Linked DNA regions of Homo sapiens: all the other regions are linked to region 1. Evidence: promoter capture Hi-C in 16 types of primary human blood cells and fetal thymus (Javierre and others, 2016). All regions are on one chromosome and are shown on one strand. Each heading gives the region's core, a stretch centred on a gene start or on the middle of the fragment in contact. The rest is flanking DNA. Distances are from core to core; before and after follow the strand shown. Region 1 holds the start of MED27 (mediator complex subunit 27). Region 2 has its middle 34 kb from the start of RAPGEF1. Region 3 has its middle 51 kb from the start of RAPGEF1. Region 4 has its middle 81 kb from the start of RAPGEF1.

What was found. Contacts are between HindIII fragments. The CHiCAGO score rates a contact against its expected background, and 5 or more counts as called.
Region 2: a fragment that was not itself captured here is called in contact with the fragment with the promoter of MED27 in region 1 in 1 of 17 cell types (endothelial precursors); the score reaches 5.1 in endothelial precursors.
Region 3: a fragment that was not itself captured here is called in contact with the fragment with the promoter of MED27 in region 1 in 1 of 17 cell types (endothelial precursors); the score reaches 5.6 in endothelial precursors.
Region 4: a fragment that was not itself captured here is called in contact with the fragment with the promoter of MED27 in region 1 in 1 of 17 cell types (endothelial precursors); the score reaches 6.4 in endothelial precursors.

What each region holds. Positions count from the first base shown.
Region 1 is chr9:132,076,678-132,082,231 of GRCh38, forward strand. MED27 (mediator complex subunit 27) reads right to left here and starts at 3,190. Exons shown (of 8, transcript NM_004269.4): 1 at 2,965-3,190; 2 at 765-909. The coding sequence starts at 3,167. RefSeq lists enhancers at 1-163, 3,087-3,366. The HindIII fragment of the contact is 6,112 bases long and covers 1,494-5,554 here.
Region 2 is chr9:131,771,203-131,776,756 of GRCh38, forward strand. No RefSeq gene overlaps it. Among named protein-coding and RNA genes, the nearest start is that of RAPGEF1, 34 kb to the left of the region's middle. The HindIII fragment of the contact is 5,545 bases long and covers 1-5,518 here.
Region 3 is chr9:131,788,606-131,794,159 of GRCh38, forward strand. No RefSeq gene overlaps it. Among named protein-coding and RNA genes, the nearest start is that of RAPGEF1, 51 kb to the left of the region's middle. RefSeq lists an enhancer at 5,420-5,554. The HindIII fragment of the contact is 493 bases long and covers 3,189-3,681 here.
Region 4 is chr9:131,818,280-131,823,833 of GRCh38, forward strand. No RefSeq gene overlaps it. Among named protein-coding and RNA genes, the nearest start is that of RAPGEF1, 81 kb to the left of the region's middle. The HindIII fragment of the contact is 1,398 bases long and covers 2,101-3,498 here.

The sequences.
Region 1 (5,554 bases), core at 1,940-4,439:
ATTCCTAAAATATATATTCTAGTTCCCAATCAACAAAAAAAGCCCATACACACATGTACGCCACACCACATAGCACCCAAACAAAAGGAACTTGTTAGTAAACAAACGAACCGTTTCCAGATTCATGAGCCTAATTGTTTCTGTTATTTTTCAGCTACAGTTTAGTTTGCAACTTACAGCTGTCCTAGGGTCTCTGCCACAGGCCTGCCTGCTGAAAGAAACCATGAATATCAAACTCTACAGAGCATGTTAAGAACAATCTCCCTTAGGTGGCATCTAAGTAATTAGAGAGTCATCTAACAAACGGTATTCTAGTGATGCTCATCCATCTGTGACAGAGGAAAAGACAATACAAGAACATAATGTGCGCAGCTAAACATTTAGACACCTCCTGGGGGCCACAGATTCCTCTGCGAACCTGACAAAAGCTAGGAAGCCTTCCCTAGATATACATGCACATACCACAACATACTGCATATAATTTTAAGGGGTTCATAAGAGTTGCTCCCTATACCCAGTCTCCAGGTTAAATACACCTGAGTTAGAATTTTTAACATGTAATCACCTGAACATCATGAATCCCCAAAGACTTCAAAGGACTACAAAATAGGTTACAGAAAAATTCTACAACTTCCAACTCTATAACCCCATGCTGAATCAAGAACATAAAAAGCAATAAAAACATACTCTTGCTTTCTGCATGTATGGAATATAAGAAAACTTGGTTTTCCATATATTAGCTCCGTTTATTACATCTCCCTTACCTTGTTTGACCACTTATATGCTTGAAGGAGTTGACTATAGAGAGGAGTTTTGTCCTGCACAGGATCCAGGCTTAACAGCCCACTGTTATGAAGAGGATGGTTCTCAGATGGCTTGCCTACCAGATTGCTCAGACGTTCCAGCTCACTGAAAAGCAAAGAGACAAGGCAAATAAACCTAAGCCCATTTACACTCCAGGGTAAAGCCAGCCCCCAGGATCAAAGACTGCTCTTCAAACCATCCATCAGAAGTCCCTTAAGAAGAAATACTTTTTGAAAGGTTAAAAAATACTTGGGACACTTAAAAAAAAAAACCCTAAATGAGAGTTTATCTGACTTTAAAACAGAGCTTCTGGTGCCATTCCAAAGGAGGAAAAAAAAGGTAAGGGCAGTAGAATCAATAAGACCCCCATAATCAGAAATTAACAACTCAAATTCATCCCTGCAGTGGGGAGGAGACTTTCTGGAATTTTGAAATGTGGTATAACACTGCCTCTCACTAAGAGTTTTCAGACCCACGTGCAGATCATTACACTTGGCAGAACAGCAAGTACCTGATTAAATGATGATTATTTATCATTCACATAGGGATAGATTTGTACATGATGCTTCACAGATGGTAAAACTTAACAAAACAAAGAAGAGATAAAATAAACAAATGGAATGGGAAGACACCACTGAGGTGGCTGTGTCAAACAAACACACTTCAGTCTAGCAGGAAAACCCTAGAGAAGCTTGGGAAAGCGAGCCAACAAGAGCACATTCCAGGAGTACGTTCTGAGGGGCCAGTCCCAAACTGCCAACAAAAGACTCTCTAGGAACAGCTTCTTATGCCACATTCATTTTGGAATCATCAGCCACCTTCTTCTTGGCACTACTGTACAAAGATTTAAGAAGGCAAAAGGATAATGTCAGCACTCTTAAAGTTTCTATTTAAAATGGTGAAGGGTTATAATATCCTGAACATTACAAAGGGAAGTAACTCGGAGAGAAAATGGAAAGAAAACAGAAGATAGGGAAGAATAGCCAGTGCATCCCCTGAAGCAGAGAAAGTATTAACTGGTGCTCGGCGCGGTGCCAGAGAACAGCAAGCGGATGTGGGCGTTGAGGAGGGCTGTGTGATTTACGGCAACTACTTAGGGGGAAAACAAAAAGGCACCCATCATTTGGCCACCTCCTCCTCCTCCTCCTCCATCCTACCTCCTCTTTCCATCTGGTTACTAAGGAGACCAAGTTGAAAAAACAAAAATCCAACCAGTCCAGAAATCAAAGGATGACTAGCTCACCAAATGCTTTCCCCTACTCAGGTCAGTTCTGAGAAGTAAAAGGCAAAAATCCTGAAATTCTAACCTTCCTGGGAAGGACTGACTCTCTTATAAAACAGAAGGCAAGTTCAGGACCTAAGCAATCAAGAAGTGCCTACTATGTGCCAGGCCCTTTACAAACATCCTCTCATTTAATTCTTACAACACTTAAAAAGTGTAAGTGAAGAAGGTACTTTGTAAGGAAGAGGAGGAAAAGTGGAATCCTTAACCCTAAAAGACTACAAATTAAGAAGCAGGGGCGTTAAGCATAAGTAATTAAACTGGTTAAGAGATTAGAGAGTAGGTCTCTACTGCGGAAGGAACTCCCACAGGAGTGGGAGTGAGGAAACTGATCAGGTGGTTTGGGAGCGGTTAGGGGAAAAGGTGAAGACAGCTCAAGGCCTGGCCGGTCCGTCGTGGTTGCGGGTGGGTGGTGGTGGAACTGATGAAGTCCAAGTTCAGGGCCGGGGAATTGGGGCTAATCAGATCGGGTGCACTTGGGTTTGGAGCCGACTGACCAGGTCCTGTCTGTACTATTACTACATTCGGATCAGACGTGATGGGGCACAGAGGGCCTACAGGTGAGAAACCTGCCAAGCTCAGAGAAGTGGAAGTTCATGGGAAAAGCATGCCTCCTTGTTAGGAATGGAACCGCCACAGAAGAGGTCGAGGATGGCGGAAGACAAACAGGACCAGGAGGCCAGGAGAAGCAAGACGAGAAAGCGGGGATGGTGTTAAGATGTCCCTGAGGGACAGGCAGAGGCTTGGAGAACAAGAAGAGAAAGAACAGGGATCAAGGGAAACGGAGAACAGCCCCTGCCTGGGAAGACTCGAGCGACGTAGGGGCAGGGTCGGAGCGGGGCCGGTCCCCGACCCCGGCCCCTTCAGCCGGTACCTACTTGAGGTCCCGGTTGACCGAATGTAAGTTGTCCTGGAAGTGCGCAATAAAGGCCTTCTCCCGGCCCTCCAGCGTCTCCTTGTTCCGCATCCCATCCTTCAGGCAGTCGAACACCCTGCTCACGCTGGAGCGCAGCGCCTGGATGGCACTAATGGCCTGGGAAAAGGCCTCCAGGTTCACACTGACATTTATCACGTCCGCCATGTTGCCGCCGCCACAGCAGCTCTCCAAAGCCGGCTTCGCAAGCAAAAAAGCCGCGCTCGCTGATGACGTATCTCCGAAGACCTCTGGGAAATGCAGTTCGCGCGGGGCTACCCAGAAAGCACTTTCGAAAAAGGGTTTCCCCTTGAGCTAAACTAATGCATGGGCAGGAAAGTGATTTTTCTCAACTTGGGGAAGTCAGGTTGCACTCCCGGTTTGCTTAATGGTGACAAAGAAATACAGAAAGTTCCCGCATTTCCCCAAACTTGCACTCTGGGGAATCATAGGGAAAAGAATTGCTCAGAGCAATAGTGTAAAAAGGAAAGGAACATAGCCCATTCAATAAAATGAGTCCATATTCATAAATAAAGCGGGGAGAAGGAAAGTTTCTTCTTTCCAATAGAATGCCAGCTCATAAATGCAGAAAGAGTGATGGAATTAGAAAATTGCCATTTGACAGCCATTAGAATAATTGATTCAGATAGAAATCGATGGATGCTAAAACTAGTGGGTGAAAGTGTCAGAAAAATAACAGGCTTTTTAGGTAATCTCAAAGTATCGTCCCCCAAGATGCTTATTAATTAAGAAGAGGAAAATAATGATCCAGAGATTCCACTTCTGGGCATATACCCAAAAGAAGCGAAAGCAGGGACTCAATACCTGTACACATGTTCATAACAGCATTATTCACCAAATAGCCAAAAGGCAGGGGAAACCCAAGTGTCCATAAACTGATGAATAAACAAAGTGTGATACTGGCATACAATGAAAAATTCTTCAGGCTTAAGCAAGAAAATTCTGACATATGCTACCTGGAGGAAACTTGAAGACATTATGCTAAGTGAAATAAGCCAGTCACAAAAAAACAAAATTCTGTGTGACTCCACTTATATGAGGTGTTTAGGGTAGTCAAAATGTTAGAGACAGAAAGTAGAATGGTGGCTGGTTTACAGTGAACACACACCTCTGAAAATAACATACATAGCATAGAGGTTGTGGAAGAAAGAGAAGGTTTGGGATTTAAATAAAACCAACAAAATGTTGGCCAAATCTGGCTTTATGGAAAAATTCAATGTCTCTTTGTCCTGTTGGCTATAGACAGGTTTCTGAAAATTTATTATCTTTTTACTAAAGGGAACCTGCCCAAGTCCTCATGTTCTTTCCTTAGAGGAGCTGGGGTTGCATAGCTTGGAGCAGAGAAGAGGAGAGCAGGAGGCAGATCATGATTGTGACCTTCAACTCACCTTCATGTCAACCCAAGACAAGAGTCCTCCTTGGTTAACTAGTGGCAATAACAATAACCAGTTGTAGGAAGGCTGTAGAGAGGAAGATTTCAGCATAATATTGCAAAGGGCCATATTTAAGTCTGTACTTAAAGAGTACAGACTTGGAAAAGTTTTACAGCTGGATGGTGGTGATGGCCATACAACAATGTGATTGTACTTAATGCCACAGAACTGGACACTTAGAAACAGTGAAAATGGTTGATTTTATATTATGTATATTTTACCAAAAAATTTTAAACAATTCATTAATGTAAACATAAGGGGGGATGGATAGTGACTTAATAGTGACTTCACAGTGGAGAAACATGGCAGACACCAGCTTAACCAAAAGGCCAAGGTCAACATCACCAGTGACGGGACATGTTGTGCACCTCCTGATACAATGCACTGGAAAGAGCACAACATGACCTCCATGATATTCTTGCCAGCAGTGCATAACCTGAATCTAATCAGGACATCAATAGAACTCAAACTGAAAAACGTGACAAAATAACTGACTGACCTATACTTTTTCAAGAAATATCTGTGTCAGGCCATACACTGTGGCTCACACCTGTAATCCCAGCACTTTGGGAGGCCAAGGTGGGTGAATCATTTGAAGTCAGGAGTTCGAGACCAGCCTGGCCAACGTGGTGAAACCCCATCTCTACTAAAAAGACAAAAAATTAACTGGGCGTGGTGGTGGGCACCTGTAATCCCAGCTACTTGGGAGGCTGAGGCAGGAAAATTGCTTGAACCTGGGAGGTGGAGGTTGCAGTGAGCCAAGAGTGCATCATTGCACTCCAGCCTGGGCAACAAGAGCAAGACTCAGTCTCAAAAAAAAAAAAAAAAATTACATATATATATATATATATGTCTGTGTCACGAAAGACATGAAGGTTGAGAAATTCTTCCAGATTAAAGGAAACCAAAGAGCTGTGACAACTGAGGGCAATGTGTGAGCTAGGATCTTCTTTTGCTGATACAACTGGGACAATTGGTGAAATCCGAGTAAGATCTGTAGATGAGTTAACAGTATTTTATCAGTGATTGTATTGGTCTGTTCTTGAACTGCTATAAAGAAATACCTGAGACTAGGTAATTTGCAAAGAAAAGAGGTTTAAC
Region 2 (5,554 bases), core at 1,496-3,995, 310 kb before region 1:
GGAGGCTAGAATGTAGAGTGCAAGTGAGAGGGTAACAGGAAACAAGGCTGGAGGTGTTACTTTAAGAGTAATCGCTTGCCGGGCATGGCTCACGCCTGTAATCCCAGCACTTTGCGGGGCCAAGGCGGGTGGATCACTTGAGGTTAGGAGTTTGAGACCAGCCTGGACAACATGGTGAAATCCCGTCTCTACCAAAAAATACAAAAATCAGCCGGCCGTGGTGGTGCGTGTCTGTAGTCCCAGCTACTTGGGAGGCTGAGATAGGAGAATCGCTTGAACCTGGGAGACGGAGGTTATAGTGAGCCGAGATTGCAACAACTGCACTCCAGCTTGGAAGACAGAGTGAGACCCTATCTCAAAAAAAAAAAAAAAAAAAAAAAAGGACTCACGGATGATGGATCAGTGGGCCCTTCCAGTGAGTCAAGTACACTCATCATCTCATTGCTTCTTCCTGTCTGCCTATGAGGGAGTACTTTTATTATCCCCACTTTAGGGATATGATAACTGAGACCATGAGGTGGAGTAGCCTGCCTGAGGATTTAACCCAGGTGCGCTTGGCTCCAGAGCTGGCAGTCTCCACTTGGCCCTGTGGCAGGCCCTGGCTTCATCCTGAGGCACTGTACAGCAGATGTGCAGCCATGAGGCCGGCATGCCCAGCCTGCAGACCCCTGGCCCATGCCTGTTCTGTTCCTCCCACTTGGCTTGTGCTGAAGCTCCTGTGGTATCCCTGAGCTCCGCCCAAGCTGCAGCTCAACTCTGCAATGGCTTCTGGCCCTCTGTGGGGTCCAGTTCTTCTTTTCTGGACAGCAGAATCACAGCTGCACAAAGGTACTTGGAGGCCCTCTCCACCTCTGCCTGGAAGCAGGGCTGCTGCTGCACTGGAAGAATAACCCCCATCGAATGGGGTGTCCCCAGGGTCCTGCCTTTCTTCCCTGCCTTTCTCCGTGGCCAGGAGATCCTCTGGTAGGGCCGACGGGATGTGAAGGTGACCCCAGGCTGCCTGCAAGAGGACTCTTCCAAACAAAAGCCTGACCAACAAACAGCCATGCCAGCAGGGAATACAATCAATATTCCGAAGTCACAAAAACCGGCTTCAAAGCCAGCAGTGGCTGGGAAGCCAGAGTGAGGGGTTGTGGAAGGTTCTGCTCACTCCTGCTCTGTTGCCAGGGCCCAGTGGCGCTAGGGAGGGGAGTGGCAAAGGCGGATGGTAAAATGGTTAGGCTGGTGGAGCTGACATGGGGCCCTGGAATCAGAAACCCATTCCCTGTACACTGAGTACAAATTAACTCTGCAGCCTTGGGCACGTCTCCATCTCTCTGGGCTTCAAAAGAGGAGAAAAATGAAGAGGTTGAATAAAATGCTCTTTCTGGGGTCTGAAGAGATTACGTATTTCCCCTGAGGTCCCCCAACTGTGAAGCAGAGACTGTTCTCAAACTCAAGTCTGACTCCTGGGCCCACGCCAGCAGTCCACGGTCAGGCTAGATGGAGCCATGTCAGGAGCCGCCGCCGACATGCGGGCTGTGCTCAGAGCCCCGCCCAGCACTGGCTGGACCAGGTCTCTCTGATGAGGAAGACAAGGCATGGCTGGAGGCTCTCTGCAGGTGGAGAGTTGGAGGACAGCCTGGTCGGGGGGACAGAGTGGGTACTGGGGCTGACTCACCGCCATGCCAGCACCCTTCCTTGGGGAACCGCCCTTCCTGAGCTGGGCAAGTGGGAGCCTCTGAGGGGTCAGTCGCTGCCCAGGAGTTTGGCCGAGACATCCACCCTCTGTATGAATCCTGCCTTTTATGTTCTGCATTTCCATTGCTTTGACATCTTGGGGTCTTGCTGACTCTGGAGGGACTGCCCCCACCCAGGGCCAAGTCCCAGGGGTAATAAAGGGCTCACTTAGGAGCACGCCTTTCATATGAAAACCATGCAGTCTGGTGTTCACACCCCAATAGTCTCCTTTTCCTCACTCTGACACTCTGGGCCCCTGCCTACCTGCCCCAATCGCCCCAGGGCCAGGTATCAGACAACTAGGAACAGCCCCTATGCCCCAGAGAACCTGAAATTATTCAAGTGAGCTGACCCCAATCCTGCTCATTCCCATGGGAACCACAATAAAGGCTCTTGGCCACCCCTTCCCCTGGCTCCCTCTGCCTCTTGACTGACCTCGGTGTTTCCCTGTGTGGCCCTGTGTTTCCTGTTTGGCCCTGTGTGATGTGGTGAGTCCCCTCCTCTTGGGGTCTGTGGGTATAACAAACCTTCTTTTTTTTTTAGACGGAGTCTTGCTCTGTCGCCCAGGCTGGAGTGCAGTGGCGCGATCTCGGCTCACTGCAAGCTCCGCCTCCCGGGTTTACGCCATTCTCCTGCCTCAGCCTCCCAAGTAGCTGGGACTACAGGTGCCCGCCACCACGCTCGGCTATTTTTTTTTTTTTTTTTGTATTTTTAGTAGAGATGGGGTTTCACCTTGTTAGCCAGGATGGTCTCGATCTCCTGACCTCGTGATCGGCCTGCCTTGGCCTCCCAAAGTGCTGGGATTGCAGGCTTGAGCCACTGCGCCCGGCCAACAAACCTTCTTTCTAATGGCAGTCCCTTGATCTGTTAGCCTCACCATACCTGAATAATAATAAAACCTACATTTTAGAACGCCTTCATATATGAATGCCCGCGTCGGTCCCTCCTTGGATAGCCTGGGAGAAGAGCCTGCTCCTGGGGCGTTGATGTAGTGGAGGGAGCCCTGGATGAAGTCTAGGTGTCTGAGGATTTGAGTCCCACCCTTGGCTGTTTGGTGCCCCCTCGGCAGCCTCACTGTGAGGCAGGGCAGCTGGGCAGCCGGGCAGCCGGGCAGGGACTATGAGTTCCTTTGCTATATCAGAAACTGGAGTGACCTGTCCAAGGTGCTGAACTGGACTAGTCCACTCACCCTCTCCCACTCAGTTCTTTCTGACTCCCAGACCAGGGCTACAGGCCCTTATTGGGACACCTGTGGGAGTGACTTCCTACTCAGGACGAATGGTGTTGGGAATGCCCCTCCCCTCACTCGGAGGGTGGGGGTTCTCAGCTAAGAGTTCAGACTGTGCCCATAGCTGATTGGACGAGGTAAGCACATGACCAAGGAGGACCAATCCATTCACTCTCCCAGGTACTTGCAGGTGGGGCCAGGAAGGGTCTGTGGGTCCAGCTGGGGTTGGTGAGTGGCCCTTCTTCTCCCCTTGCTTTGGAGAATACAGGGGAATGAGTCAACGCCTCCAAGGGGGGTTCAGCAAAAGAAGAAGCCAGGAGCCTAGGGGTTTGATGTTTAGGCCTCAGATTCTGCTCTGTCCAGAGGCCTGGCTGCCTCTTGTTCCTGGGTAATGGAGGTCACTCTGGTAACTTTCAAAGTCCCCCTGCTCAAGGGCTCTGGCTCTTTGCCTGCACAGCCTCCTCTGCGGCACCCCAGGGCCCCACTCCCTCCCCTGCGGCTTCATGAAAGCCCTCATTTTACAGATGGCTTGAGACACAGACAGGTTAAGCTGCCTCCCCCAGGGTTTGGGGGCCCCAGGGCAGCTGGGGTGGCAGTTGTGGAAGGGGCACTGGAAAAGGAGTCGGGCTGTGGCTGGGAGCTGGCAGCTGCACCCTGTCCAACAGCTCAGGGCTCACCAGCCTTGCTGAGCCAGCACACCGGCGGAGACTGAGGGAAGCTGGGGCAGTTTGTGAGGTCTCAGGAGACTCCCAGTGGCAGAGAGCTGGCTGCCCCCAAGCTCCTTGCCTGGGGCCCAGGCAGTTTGCTGTGTCACTGCAACCACCCTGGCTTCTCCTGGGGAGAGAGGACAGACAGAACGGCAGCCAGGAGAAGGCAGGTTGGCCGGCCAGACCCTGGGGTGGGCTGGGAGGTCTCAGCTCTGTTTGAATGTGGCTACCTTTTAGGAGGCAAATCCCACCTGAGGCAGGGCCAGGTCACTGGCACTGCAGACTTAGGGAGCCAGGCCTCTTGCCCATGCATGTCACATCACAGCCCGTCTGTGATTCCCCCTTCCCGGCTTCTGTTTCCTCCAACCCTCTCCTCTGTGTTGAACTAAATACTTTTCAAAGGGAATCAATGCAGAGAGAGGGTTTTTTGTTTGTTTGTTTGTTTGTTTGTTTTTCAGAAGCAACACCAGGCTCTTTAATTTAAACTCTCCATGAGCTCTTCCATCCAGCGAGCTTTCCTGGCTCATCTGAAAGTTGGGCCCTATCCCTGACCTTGAGGGAGGGATGACCTCTGACCTGGGGGGAAGAATGACCTATACTTTTGGGGCTGTGGGGGCCTCCCTGCCACTTCCTCCTTCTGTTACGGTGGCATCACCTGTCCTTGCCACCTTCCCACCTGCCCCAGATTGCACACCTGCCCCCAGTGCAGCTCTGCCCCAGTGAGGAACTCTGCCCACTTGGCTGGTCCGTTCTGACAGAGGACTTTCTGTTTGCTGGGCAACCAGAGGCAGAGTGACCCTGGCCTTCTGGAGGGCCACAGCCTAGGGCTAGAAGGAGGAGTGACAGGAGGGCAACAGCTCATGTAGGTCACAGAGTGTGAGCTTGAAAGGGACTTGAGAGACCATTAGGTCCACTGCCCCTTCCCTGCTTCTCAGAAGGGGATTCCCCAAGACCAGCCTTGAAACCAGTAGACTAACTGATCAGTTGAATAATTTTAACACCCACCACTTACATGTTGGATGCTTACTGCATGGTATGCACTTCACTGGGTCCTATTATCTGTTAGCACCACAATGAGCCCATGAAGTGGGTGTCCTTTGTGCGGTTGAGAAAGTGGAGGCTACAGGAGGCTATGCCACTTTCCCAAGACCTAACCTCTGGTTAGCAAGAGAGAGAGTGGAACTTGAACCCAGGGATGGTAGATTCCCAAGTGCAAGTCTGAAGGCTGCCCCACCCAGCCCACCTCCTGAGAGATGAGAACACCCAGCCGTGGGGGCCTCATAAGAATTCAGCAAAGGAGCCATTCCTGGTGTCCCAGGCCAGCCCCAGCTCCCTCCCCTCCCTGAACAAGGACAGAATGCCTGCAGTTCCCCATGGAGTGGCAGGATGGCACATCCCTGTGGGGAGCCTGCAGCCTTGGGCCTCAGCCACTGGGTCTGTGCCAGCCCTACCACGGGCATCATTTGAGAATGTCAGCGAGGCCCTCACTCCCTGCAGCAGGCTTGCTGGCTCTTTATGCCAATATTTTTGTGGGACATCCACTCTGCCCAGATCTGTACTTGGTGCTGACCCCCTGTCCTTCAAGTGTCGTCTGTCCAGTCCAGAAAAGAGCCCAAGACCCATGACAATCCTTTTGGGATATAAAGGATCTAAGAAGGCAGCCAGCAGGAGCCCTGGAGACCATCTGATCTGTCCTGCCCATCTTTCAGACGGGGAGCCTGGGGCTCGGAAATAGGGTAGGACTTGCCCAGGGCCTCACAATCCACCATTGGGCAGGCCGGGATGTGAACCTCAGGCCTCAAGCGGTGCAGGACCCTGGACAGCTCCCAGGCTCTGAGAGACTCCAGGCCTGGGTTCATGGTGAAGCTTGGGCCTGGAGTCCCCACCCCAGAGGGGAGGG
Region 3 (5,554 bases), core at 2,185-4,684, 290 kb before region 1:
CAGCAGGTGCAGGAAGAGATGCTCACTGGGGGAGCGTGAAGGAGGAGCCCCCGACTCAGCTTGGGGTGGGTGTGGGAAGGACTCTCTGGAGGAGTGAGGCCAGGGTTGGGGGGGTCTTTTCATACCATACACACATGTGCATACATACAGATACACACATGTACAATGGAGGTATGATTAAGGCACAGTAAAATGCCCAGGTCACAGGTGTTCTTTTCAGCAAGTTGTATATACCCCTGTAACTCCCTCCCAGAACAAGACATAGACCATTTCCGTCACTGTCTAGTCAATACCCTCCTCTGCTGTTCTGATTTTTAATACCATAGATCACTTTTGTCTGCCCTAGGAATTTCTTTCTTTTCTTTCTTTCTCTTTCTTTCTTTCTTTTTTCTTTCCTTCTTTCTTTCTTTCCTTCTTTCCTTCTTTCTTTCTTCCTTCTTTCTTACTTTCCTTTCTTTCCTCTTTCTTTTTCTTTCTTTCTTTCTTTTCTTTCTTCCTTTTTCTCTCTCTCCCCTTCCTTCCTTCCCTCCCTCCCTTCTTTCTCTTTCTTTTTCTCTCTCTCCCCTTCCTTCCTTCCTTCCCTCCCTCCCTTTCTTTCTTTCCTTCCTTCCTTCCTTCCTTCCTTCCTTCCTTCTTCTTTTTTTGACAGGGTCTTGCTCTGCCACCCAGGCTGGAGTGTAGTGGTATGTAACCTTGGCTCACTGAAACCTCGAACTCCCATGCTCAAGCTATCCTCTCACTTCAGCCTCTTGAGTAGCTGGGACTACAGGCACACACTACCACACTTAGCTATTTAAAAAAAAATTTTGGAGGTGGAGATGGGGCCCCACTACATTGCCCAGGCTGGTCTTGAACTCCTGGCCTCAAGTGATCCTCAATTGGCCTCAGAAAGTGCTGGGGTTACAGGTGGGAGTCACTGTGCCCGGCCTGGGATTTCCTTTGAATGAACCATGCATACTCACTGAGCACATCTCAAGAGTCATCCATGTTGTGGTGTGAACCAGGAGCTTGTCCCTTTCTATACCCCATAATAAGGATGCACCACACTTGGTTTAACCATTTGTCTGTAGATGGACATTTGGAGTTATTCCTAGTTTCTAGTCAATATAAACAAAGCTGCTATGATCATTCCTAAGCAAGTCTTTTTGTGAACATGTGTGTGCATTTCCCTTGACTAAATACCTAGGAGTGGAGTTGCTGGGCTATAGGGTAGGTAGATGCTTAACCATGTAAGAAACTGCCCAGCAGTTCTCCACTGAAGGCGTGTAATCTTACGCTCCTGCAGGATGCATGCAAGTTCCGGTTGCTCCACATCCTTACCAACATTTGGTGATGTTGGTCTTTGGGATTGTAGCTATTCCACTGGTGCTGAATGGAGTCCTGGAGCATGAATTGGGGTTATCCACGAAACAGAGAGGGGCCAGAGAGAGGGCACTCCAGGCCTGGGGGTGAGAAAACCACAGGCAGGTGGGGGAAAAAAATAAAGAGGCTTTGGGGAAGGTGGGAGTGCTGGGCAGTCTGGAGGTGGGGTCAGTTGTGCCCAGCCAGGTCAGACACTCTGGCCTGTGGGGGTTTTCTCTGGAGCACCCCAGATGCCTTCTCTGGGTCCGGGCTCTGTGGGGGACCCCAATGTGGCCTGGGGTTTTGGCTCCTTTGGCAGTCAGTATTTCCCTTGGTTCCTACTGGGAGAGTCAGGGAGGCCCAAGACCGGTGACCGCATTTAGACAGGAGGGACTGATGTGGAGCTCTATGGCTGAACTGTGTAAGAAACGGCCCAACAGTTTCTCTGGTGCCTCCTGCTGCATGATGCTACCTTCCTGCTCTGGGACCCCACAACACTGCACCGTCCTGGGCTCCCCAAGGAGGCAAGAGAGTTAGGATCAGCGTCAAGTCTCAGCCAGACTCAGGCTGAGACCACACTCAAGAATACCAAAGTGCCATGGCTTGAGCGGTGGCTCCCCAAAGAAAAGTTCAAGTCCTAACCCCAAGTGAAGTCCTCACCCTTGTGGCTATGACCTTATTTGGAAGTACAGTCTTTGCTGGTGTCATTGGTTAAATTAAAATGAAGCTCTACTGGATTAGAGCGGTCCCTGAATCCAACGGCTGGTGTCCTGATGACAAAAAAGAAGAAACAGAGACACTAAGGGAAGACAGCAGCGGGGAGACAGAGCTAGAGATGGGAGGGGTGCAATCATGAGTTGAGACACACCCCAGCCACTGGAGAGCAGAGGCTGGAACGGATCCTCCCTCAGTGCCTCCAGGAGGAACCTGCTTGCCAACGCCTTGATTTTAGACTTGCGGCTTTTTTTTTTTTTTTTTTTTTTTTGAGAGAGAATCTCACTCTGTCACCCAGGCTGGAGTGCACTGACATGATCTTGGCTCACTGCAACCTCCGGGGCTCAAGCAATCCTCCCGCGTTAGCCTCCCAAGTAGCTGGGATTACAGGCATGTGCCACCATGCCCGGCTGATTTTTGTATTTTTAGTAGAGACAGGTTTTCGCCATGTTGGCAAGGCTGGTCTTGAACTCCTGGCCTCATGTGATCCGCCTGCCTTGGCCTAGGACTTTTGGCCTTCTGAACAGTGAAGAAATGGAGGTTGAGTTAAGCCACACAGTTTGAGGTAACGTGTTACAGTGGGCCTAGCACCTGAATACACGAAGCCAGGAGGGCCGCTGTGCCCTCTGCCCCATGCTTCCCTCTGGATCCATCCACTGGCATTCTTCTCTCCCTGGAGAATCACCTTCCAGCATCCTCTCCAATTTACTCCCTGACCCCTCCAAATCCCAGCCCCTGTGCCAGCTCCTTCACAGAGCTCCCCAACTGAAGTGAGACCCACGCAAGGCCTGTGTCCCCCTTGTCTGTGTGCAGAACCTGACACCCTGGGCCTCTCAACCAGCATTTGCTGGATGAATGAATGAATGAAAGAATGAATGAATGGATACTTGCACTCTGCAGCAGTTTGCAACCCCTCATGAGGTTCTGCTGCAGAACCATGTTTCTGCAAAGCAAACCTGACCCAGAAGGCACAAGTATGTGAGCTGGATTTGGGGCGACAGCTCTCCTCTCTACAATGGAGCACGGAGATCATTTTACTTCAGCCAACCCCGGCTGGGCTCTCCCCTGCGCAGGTGATCAGCAGGCAGCTTAATTGGCCTGGCAGAGCCGTGGGCTAAGCGGTGGGGAGGGCAAGCTTGCTCATTACTTCCCTGATCCGCTGGGACCTTCCAACCACAATGCAGGACCAGCAGCGATTTCTGCAGGGAGAGGCAGGAGCCTGCGGGGCCCCGGAGCACTCGACACCTGGAAAGGACCCAGGCCTGGGAGGTTCTGCACTGTGGCTGTAGGGCTTGCTGGCCACGGGTCTCCCATCCTGTCAGCGCACGGTCCTGGCTCTCCATGAGTGCAGGGGCTGGTCTGCTGGTTGCCGTGTCCTCAGTGCCCAGCCAGTGCGGGCCGAGGCAGGGCTGCTGCGTCACAGAGCCCCGGGGGCTCCTTCCACCTCAGCTTCTGTGTGAATGGCCCCCCTTGGACTTGTGCAGCTTGGCAGCCCTGGCTACCAGCACCCACCAGGAACTCAGTGAGCGTGCACGGCGGTGGAGGGCACAGGCCACGGTGCTCAGGTTCATAGTGCTGACCAGCAGGTCCAGAGGCCTGGGACACAAATGCTTTTTCCTTAATGCAAGCTTCCGGGTCCTCCTGAGCCCAGTCCAAATGCCAGCTCCTTCATGGTACTCCACTCAGGGCCAGTTTCCCCTCCTTCCTGCCCGCATACAAGCCCCTATCCCCACTTCCCACGAATGCCACTGTGATGGTAACTGTCACCAAGAGCTTGCTGCGTGCTTACTGCGTGCCGGGCACTGAGCCATGGCCCTGGGCGAGTGGCTGCATTCTATCCTCACTGCAACACGGTGGGGCGCATGCTATCATCCCATTTTAGAAATGCCAAAACTGAGGTCCTGAGAGTGAAACAGTCTGCCCAAGGTCATGCAGCTTGTAAGCCGCAGAGGCAAGAATCTGACCCAGGCCCCTCCAACCCAGCCCCACCTTCCAGCATGCTGAGCGCCACCGTGGCAGACGCCTGGAGTCTGTGCCTGCTGTGCCACCCTCGAACCCCTTGAGGGAAAGGAGAGGGTGCCCCAGTGTTCTCCCCAGGCTCCAAGCACAGAGGCCCACTTGGTGTTTGGAGAACAGAGGCTGTCGGGCTGCAGGACTAGGCTCCGGCCCCTCCCTCCCTTGTACTGTTTACTTATGATCTCTCTCTCGACGTTTCGCCCCCAAATGCCCAGAGCCTAGCACAGGGCCTGGCACAAGGAATGCCCAGTGAAAGTTGGTTACATTCAACCCAGTTGGAGGCACGAGCCCAGAAGTGGGAGTGACAGGGAAGGCTCCCCTGAGACCAACAGCGGCCTGACACCCCCTTCAGCCTCCGGGACCCCACCTGGGTCTTGGTCTGTTTTCCCTCTCTCTCTGCATGAGCACTGATGTCCTTCCAGGCTATGCTGGTTGCTGTGACAGTAGCCCCTTCCCCACACGGCAGGGTCTGTGACACCCTAGCCATGCCCACTGCAGCCTTCTCAGGAGAACTGGGAGGAGAGAGAGGGTTTTTTTATTTTTGTTTTTGTTTTTTGAGAAAGGGTCTTGTTCCGTCACGCAGGCTGGAGTGCAGTGGTGTGATCATGGCTCACTGCAGCTTCTGCCTCCCAGGCTCAAGTGATCCTCCTGCCTCAGCCTCCCAAGTAGCTGGGATTACAGGCATGCACCACCACACCTGGGTAATTTCTTTTATTTTTTTACTAAAAAAAATTTTTTTTGAGATGGAGTCTTACTCTGTCACCAAGGCTGGAGTGCAGTGGTGTGATCTTGGTTCACTGCAACCTCCGCCAACCGTGTTCAAGCAATTTTCCTGCTTCAGCCTCTCAAGTAGCTGGGATTACAGGCATGCACCAACATGTACAGCTAAATTTTGTATTTTAGTACATGTTGGCCAGGGTGATCACGAATTCCTGACATCTGGTGACCTGCCCACTTTGGACTCACAAAGTGCTGGGATTACAGGTGTGAGCCATCACGGTCAGCCTATTTTAAAATATTTTTTATTTGAGGTCTCACATGTTGCCCAGGTTGGTCTTGAACTCCCAGCCTCAAGTGATCTGCCTGCCTCGGCCTCCCAGAATGCTGGGATTACAGGTGTGAGCCATCATGCCCAGCATAAAGAGAGGTTTTTACGAGGTAGGAGCAGGAGACACCAGAACACATGAGAGTGTGTGAGGTGGCCATGGATGGCTGCTGACCCCCAGAGGGAGGGCAGGGAGAGGTGGGGTGGCTGAGGGTCAGCTGGTGGCCTCTGGAGCAGGCCACACTCCAGCCACGCTCCTGTTGGGCCCAGATGACCATGGAGGCATCCCCAGGGAATGTGGGGGACGGGGGTCTGGCAGCTCCTGGCAGCGGCCCCATTGGTGGGGACACTGACATTCTTCCAGGGTCGGAGGGAAGTACCCCAGGTCCGGACTGTGGGTAGAGGCCAGGACAGCAAAGGGGAGCAGGGTGAGGGGCC
Region 4 (5,554 bases), core at 1,550-4,049, 260 kb before region 1:
ACCAACCGTGAAATTGGAGGGCTGGAACATTCAGCCCCCTCATCTCTGAGGAAGGGAGAGGGGCTGGAGATTGAGTTAATCTCCAATCCTCATTCACGCCAATGGAATGGAACCTCTATAAAAACACTCAACACCGGGGTTTGGAGACCTGGGTTGGTGAACACACGGAAATGCTGGGAGGTTGCCGTGCCCAGAGCGGGCATGGAAGCTGTGTGCTCCTCGCCCATGTCTTGCCAGATGCAGCTCTTCCAACTGGCTGGTCCTGAGTCGTGTCCTTTATAAAAACTGGTAAATGTAAATGAATGTTGCCCTGAGTTTTATGAACCATTCTAGCAAATTATTGAACACGAAAGGGGGTTGTGGGAACCCCCAATTTATAGTCAGTGGTTCAAAAGTACAGGAGGCCCCAACTTGGCCTCTGATGTGGGGTGCAGTCTGTAGGATTGTGGGGTCTGCGCTAACTCTGGGCAGCTAGTGTCAGAATCCAGTTAAATTGCAGGACACCTGGTCGATGTCTGCCAAGAACTAAAGAACTGGTTGGTGTGGGGCAACCACACCAGACATCAAACCACATGTGATGTCTGAAATGTTGGGAGGATTTAGAAAGACAACTATTTCCCTTTAATAACACACGCAGTAAATTGCCTGTAAGTGTCCAGAGTATATGAATGAGTGAGTGCCCATGAATGGATGGATTTTCACAAACTGGTCCCATGGAACCAGCACCTTTGAAGGCCCCTCGTGTCTGTGTCTGTGCTTTGTATAAATGGGATGACACACGTGTACCCTTTGGTGTCTGGCTTCTATTTCTCAGCATACATTCGGGAGACTCATCCACGTTGCTGTGTGTTGAGGTAGATGATTAATTTTCCTTGCCGTACAGTATTCCAATGCGTGAGAATACTACACTCTGCCCATTCTACTATTGTTGGGCTTCTGGGTAATTATAAACAGTGCTGCTATGAACATTCTGGTGCATGGCTTTTGTTTTCCAAAGTGTTGTTCTCATTTTCCTCCCACCAGTAGTGTAAGAGAGGTGCATTGCTCCACATCCTCACCAACTTGTATTATTATTTTCTATCTTTTTTGTTTTAGCTTTTCTGGTGGGTGTGTATTGACATTGCACTGTGGCTTGTATTTGCATTTCCCTGTTGGCTAATGAAGCTGAGCCTCTTGTCATATGGGGTATTTTTCGGTTCATTTGGGAACCCTGTTGGCCTCTCTGCCTATCCAGGCCCATTTATCTCCTGGGATGTCTGTCTTTTTCTTACTGGTTTGTAGGCACGTTATAAGTATGAATCCTTATATTGCATTAATTACACTGTACAGATGACCTTTTCACTCTCTTAGTAGGTTCTTCTGATGAATAAACATTCTTACTATAGTCCAATTTATTTTTTTTATGGTTAGTTTTGTGTCCTATTTAACACATCTTTGCCAAGTCCAAGATCACAAAAGTGTAATGCTTTATTGTAAATGCTTTATTGTTTGTATTTCACATTTAGATCTAGAATCCACCTGGAATGGATATTTTGTTATTTGTGAGATATGTTTGTTTTGTTTTGTCATAGAGACAGGATCTTGCTCTGTTGCCCAGGCGAGAGTGCAGTGGCATGATCACAGCTCATTGCAGCCTTGACCTCCTGTGCTCAAGCAATCCTCCTGCCTCAGCCTCCAGAGTAGCTGAGACTACAAGCACCCACCACCGCGCCTGGATAATTTTTAAACTTTTTAGAGATGGTATCTCACTGTGTTACCCAGGCTGGCCTCAAACCCCTGGCTCCAAGCAATCTTCCTGCCTCAGCCTCCCAAAGTGCTGGGATTACAGGTATGAGCCACCATGCTTCGCCTTGTGAGGTATGTTTTTGAGATGACCCTCTTTTCCCCATTTATGGCTGGGTTGCCCTGTTGAGTACACTGTGGGGAGGGGAGGTCTCTTTCTGGATTCCCTCTGTTCTATCGGTCAGTTTGTCTATTCTTGTGCCAATCCCACACTGTCCTAATTACTGTGGCGTTTTTTTTTTCTTCTGATGTCTTGTAGTGTGAGTCTTTCAGCCTTGTTCTTTGTTCTCAAGATCTTCTTGGCTATTCTTGGCCCAAAGCTTTTCTATATGAATTTTAGGCTCAGCTCGTCAATTTCCATGAGAAAGAAACCTCCTGGGATTTTGATTGAAATTGCATTGAATTTAGATATTCATTAGGGGAAAGCGATATGTTTACAGTATTGTAGTTTTCCAATCCGTGAACATGGTATATACCTCTATTTGTTTAGATCTTTGTTAATTTATCTCAATGGCATTTTGCAGTTTTTAGTGTAGGTTGCACGTCTTCATTAGACTTCTTTCTACTCTCAAACCTACAGCTAATTTGCAAGAATGGAACAATGAAGACTCCTAGACCTACTCACCTGCCTTAAAGATATGCTATTGTCCCCCAGAGAGGTGGCAAAATGGTTTGTATTTTTGTCTTAAGCCTTGGACTTTTAAAATCCTGGATTTTGATGTGTGTGCAGAAGAGAACTAAGATAGCGTGCTTGAGACCGCTCTCCTTTAAAAGGCCTGCTTGCAAGAGTAGCCTCTGACTGGCATCTGGGAACTTGGATCTTGAGAGAGTTGCCACCATTCTCTAACTTTGCTGTGCTGCTTTGCTGTGCCTGAACTGTTTGCACACAAAATGGGGTTTATGCAGAACACCTGCTTGCCCTCTGGAGGTCTGGAATTTTGTTTCATGCTAGATAGAGAATGCTATGTGACCAGATCTCCATAAAAACCCCAGGCACTGAGTCTCTAATGAGCTTCCCTGGTAGACGACACTTCGACTGTGCTGCTACAACACGTTGCAGGAGGAATTGCTCCCATGAGACTGCCCTGGGAAGGAACCCTTGGAAACTGGCACCTTCTTGCCTGGGACTTTGTCCAATGCACCTTTCCCTTTGCTGATTTTATTTTGTGTCCTTTTGCTGTAATAAGTCATAGTTGTGATACAAAGAGTATGCTAAGTCCTGTGAGTCCCAGTGAATCACTGAACAGGAGGTAGGGGTGGTGTTATGGACCCTTGACACAGTGTGAAAGCTCCAGATGTTTTATGTTGATTCAAAATGAAAACTTCTGAAGCTCACATGAATCGTGTCTGTAGGCCAGACATGGCCTACGAGCAGGCACTTTGGGGCTTCAGAGTGAGCTCGAGCCCCTCACTGGACAGGGATCAAGTGAGGCCTAAGGTGGGACTTGCCCCCTCCCAGGTGCCCAAGCTGGAAAGAGGGTCTGGGCTTCCCAGGCCAGAGCTGCTTTCAGGAGAATGTACCTGGTGGAAGAAGTGGTGGAAGGAAGGAAATCATGTCTTGGTTTCTGATGGGAGAAGGTTTTCAATCTATGTTGTGTGAAAAAGCAGTTGGTACAGAGACTCTGTACCCATAACATGATTTTATTTCATAGATAGGATCTCTATATCTCAGCCTTAGAAACAGGGAAATTCTGACGCATGCTACAACCTGGACGAAGCTTGAGGACATGATGCTGAGTGAAATAAGGCAGTCACAAAAGACAAATGCTGCAGAATTCCACTTCTATGTGGTCCCTAGAGTTGTCAAATCCATAGAGGCAGAATGGAGGTTGCTAGGGGATGGGGAGGGGGAATGAGGAGTGAGTGCTTGATAGGACAGAGTTTCAGTTTAGAAGATGAAAGCGTTCTGGAGATGGACGGTGGTGATGGCTGCAAACAATATACACCTAAAAATGGTTTAAATGGTAACTTTTATGTTATATATATTTTACCACAGTTAAAACATAGCAAGATAAAATAGGATGTCTCTCTGTTCACATCGCTATGGTCCTGGGAAGACACAGACCAAGGTGCTCATGGTCATCATCTGTGGATGGAGGGATTGTGGGGGAGAGTTTTCTTTTTGTTTATTTGGTTTTAGAGATGGGGGGCTTGCTATGCTGGCCAGGTTGGTCTTGAACTTCCGGCCTCAAATGATCCTCCTGCTTCAACCTCTCAAAGTGCTGGGATTACAGGTGTGAACCACCGTGCCCAGCCTGGGAGATAGTTTTCTTTCTGCTTTTCTATTTTCCATATTTTTTTTTTTGGCATGCAATATATATTATGTTTTAATGTTGAAAAAAAAATTTTTTTTTTTTTGAGATGGAGTCTAGCTCTGTTGCTCAGGCTGGACTACGGTGGCACAATCTCGGCTCACTGCAACCTCTGCTTCCTGGGTTGAAGCAATTCTCCTGCCTCAGCCTCCCGAGTAGCTGGGATTACAGACGCACGCCACCATGACCGGCTAATTTTTTGTATTTTTAGTAGAGACAGGGTTTCACCATGTTGGCCAGGCTGGTCTTGAACTCCTGACCTCAAGTGATCCACCCACCTTGGCCTCCCAAAGTGCTGGGATTACAGGCATGAGCCACCGCGCCCGGCCTGAAAAAATTTAAATACAGAAAAGCACGGAGAATAACAAAACATTTATGTATGTACTAAATTTGCAGTTTGGAAAAAATTTATTAACAATAAATAGTATGAGAAAAAAAATCAATGTCGTCAACCAGAAACATTGGGGAAAAAAAAGACAACCTAATTGTTTTGCAGAAACACCTCCAGCCACACTCCAGTTGGAAAATATCATAGAATTGGGCCTGGGCCTCTTCCCAGGTACCTGTTTCTGGCCAGGCAGCGGCCACCTCAGTCACATCAGGAGAACTGCATGGATTCCCGATCCACCAGGACCTCTGAATCTGAATTCCTGGGGAGGCCCAGATGCTGTCCTTTGCAAACTCTAGGTCGTTCCGCTGTTTTGCGGGGCTTGTGAACCACCTCCTGGGGTTCTGAGAAACTGAGTTTGACACGCCTTTCTCTACCCGATGGTGGCTCTGTTCTGTGCTCCTTGGTCTAGCGTGGGTCATGGTCTGCGCCTCAAGGTCTGAGTGTGAACCAGGTCCCAAGACTCTGCCTATGGCTGCACCCCAGGAGATGGAGCTGGGGGGCGACATGGAAAAGAGGGGGATGGGTGTGACTTGCTAGGAGAATCCCAAGTGACCATCACCTCCAACAGTGCAGCGGAAAGCTGGGTTGCAGGTGGAAGGGAAGTGCCTTCACCTGTTGTGCTTATTATCCCTGTGCTTTTGAGGGAGAGAGTGTGGCTCAGGCCGGCTGAGTGACTTGTGCAAGGTCACCCAGCTAGTCGTGTGTGCAGGACTGTGACCTGAGGGCGTCCCTTAGGGGCTGCAGTCTCCTCTTGGCCATCTGGAAGGGTGTGCTCGGGGTTCTAGGGGGCAGATGGGGCAGGGTCCCTGCAGCCCTGTCTCTGAGATGATGGACTGTGCACGTGGCCACCCCCACAGCCCCGGAGCCTCCCTTGAACTCTTCTCTGCACCCTGCTGAAGAAGCATCTCCTGGGGACGGTGGCAGCCAGGGGAGTGGCAGAGGAAGAGAGGACGGGTAGGCCCCATCTCCCTGTCCCAGGTCTGGAAATGACGCCCGCGCCCCAAGCCCTTCTCTCCTGCCCAGCTTCGTCTGTGTCGTCTGTGTCGTAGAAAGGCCTGCTCAGAATTCA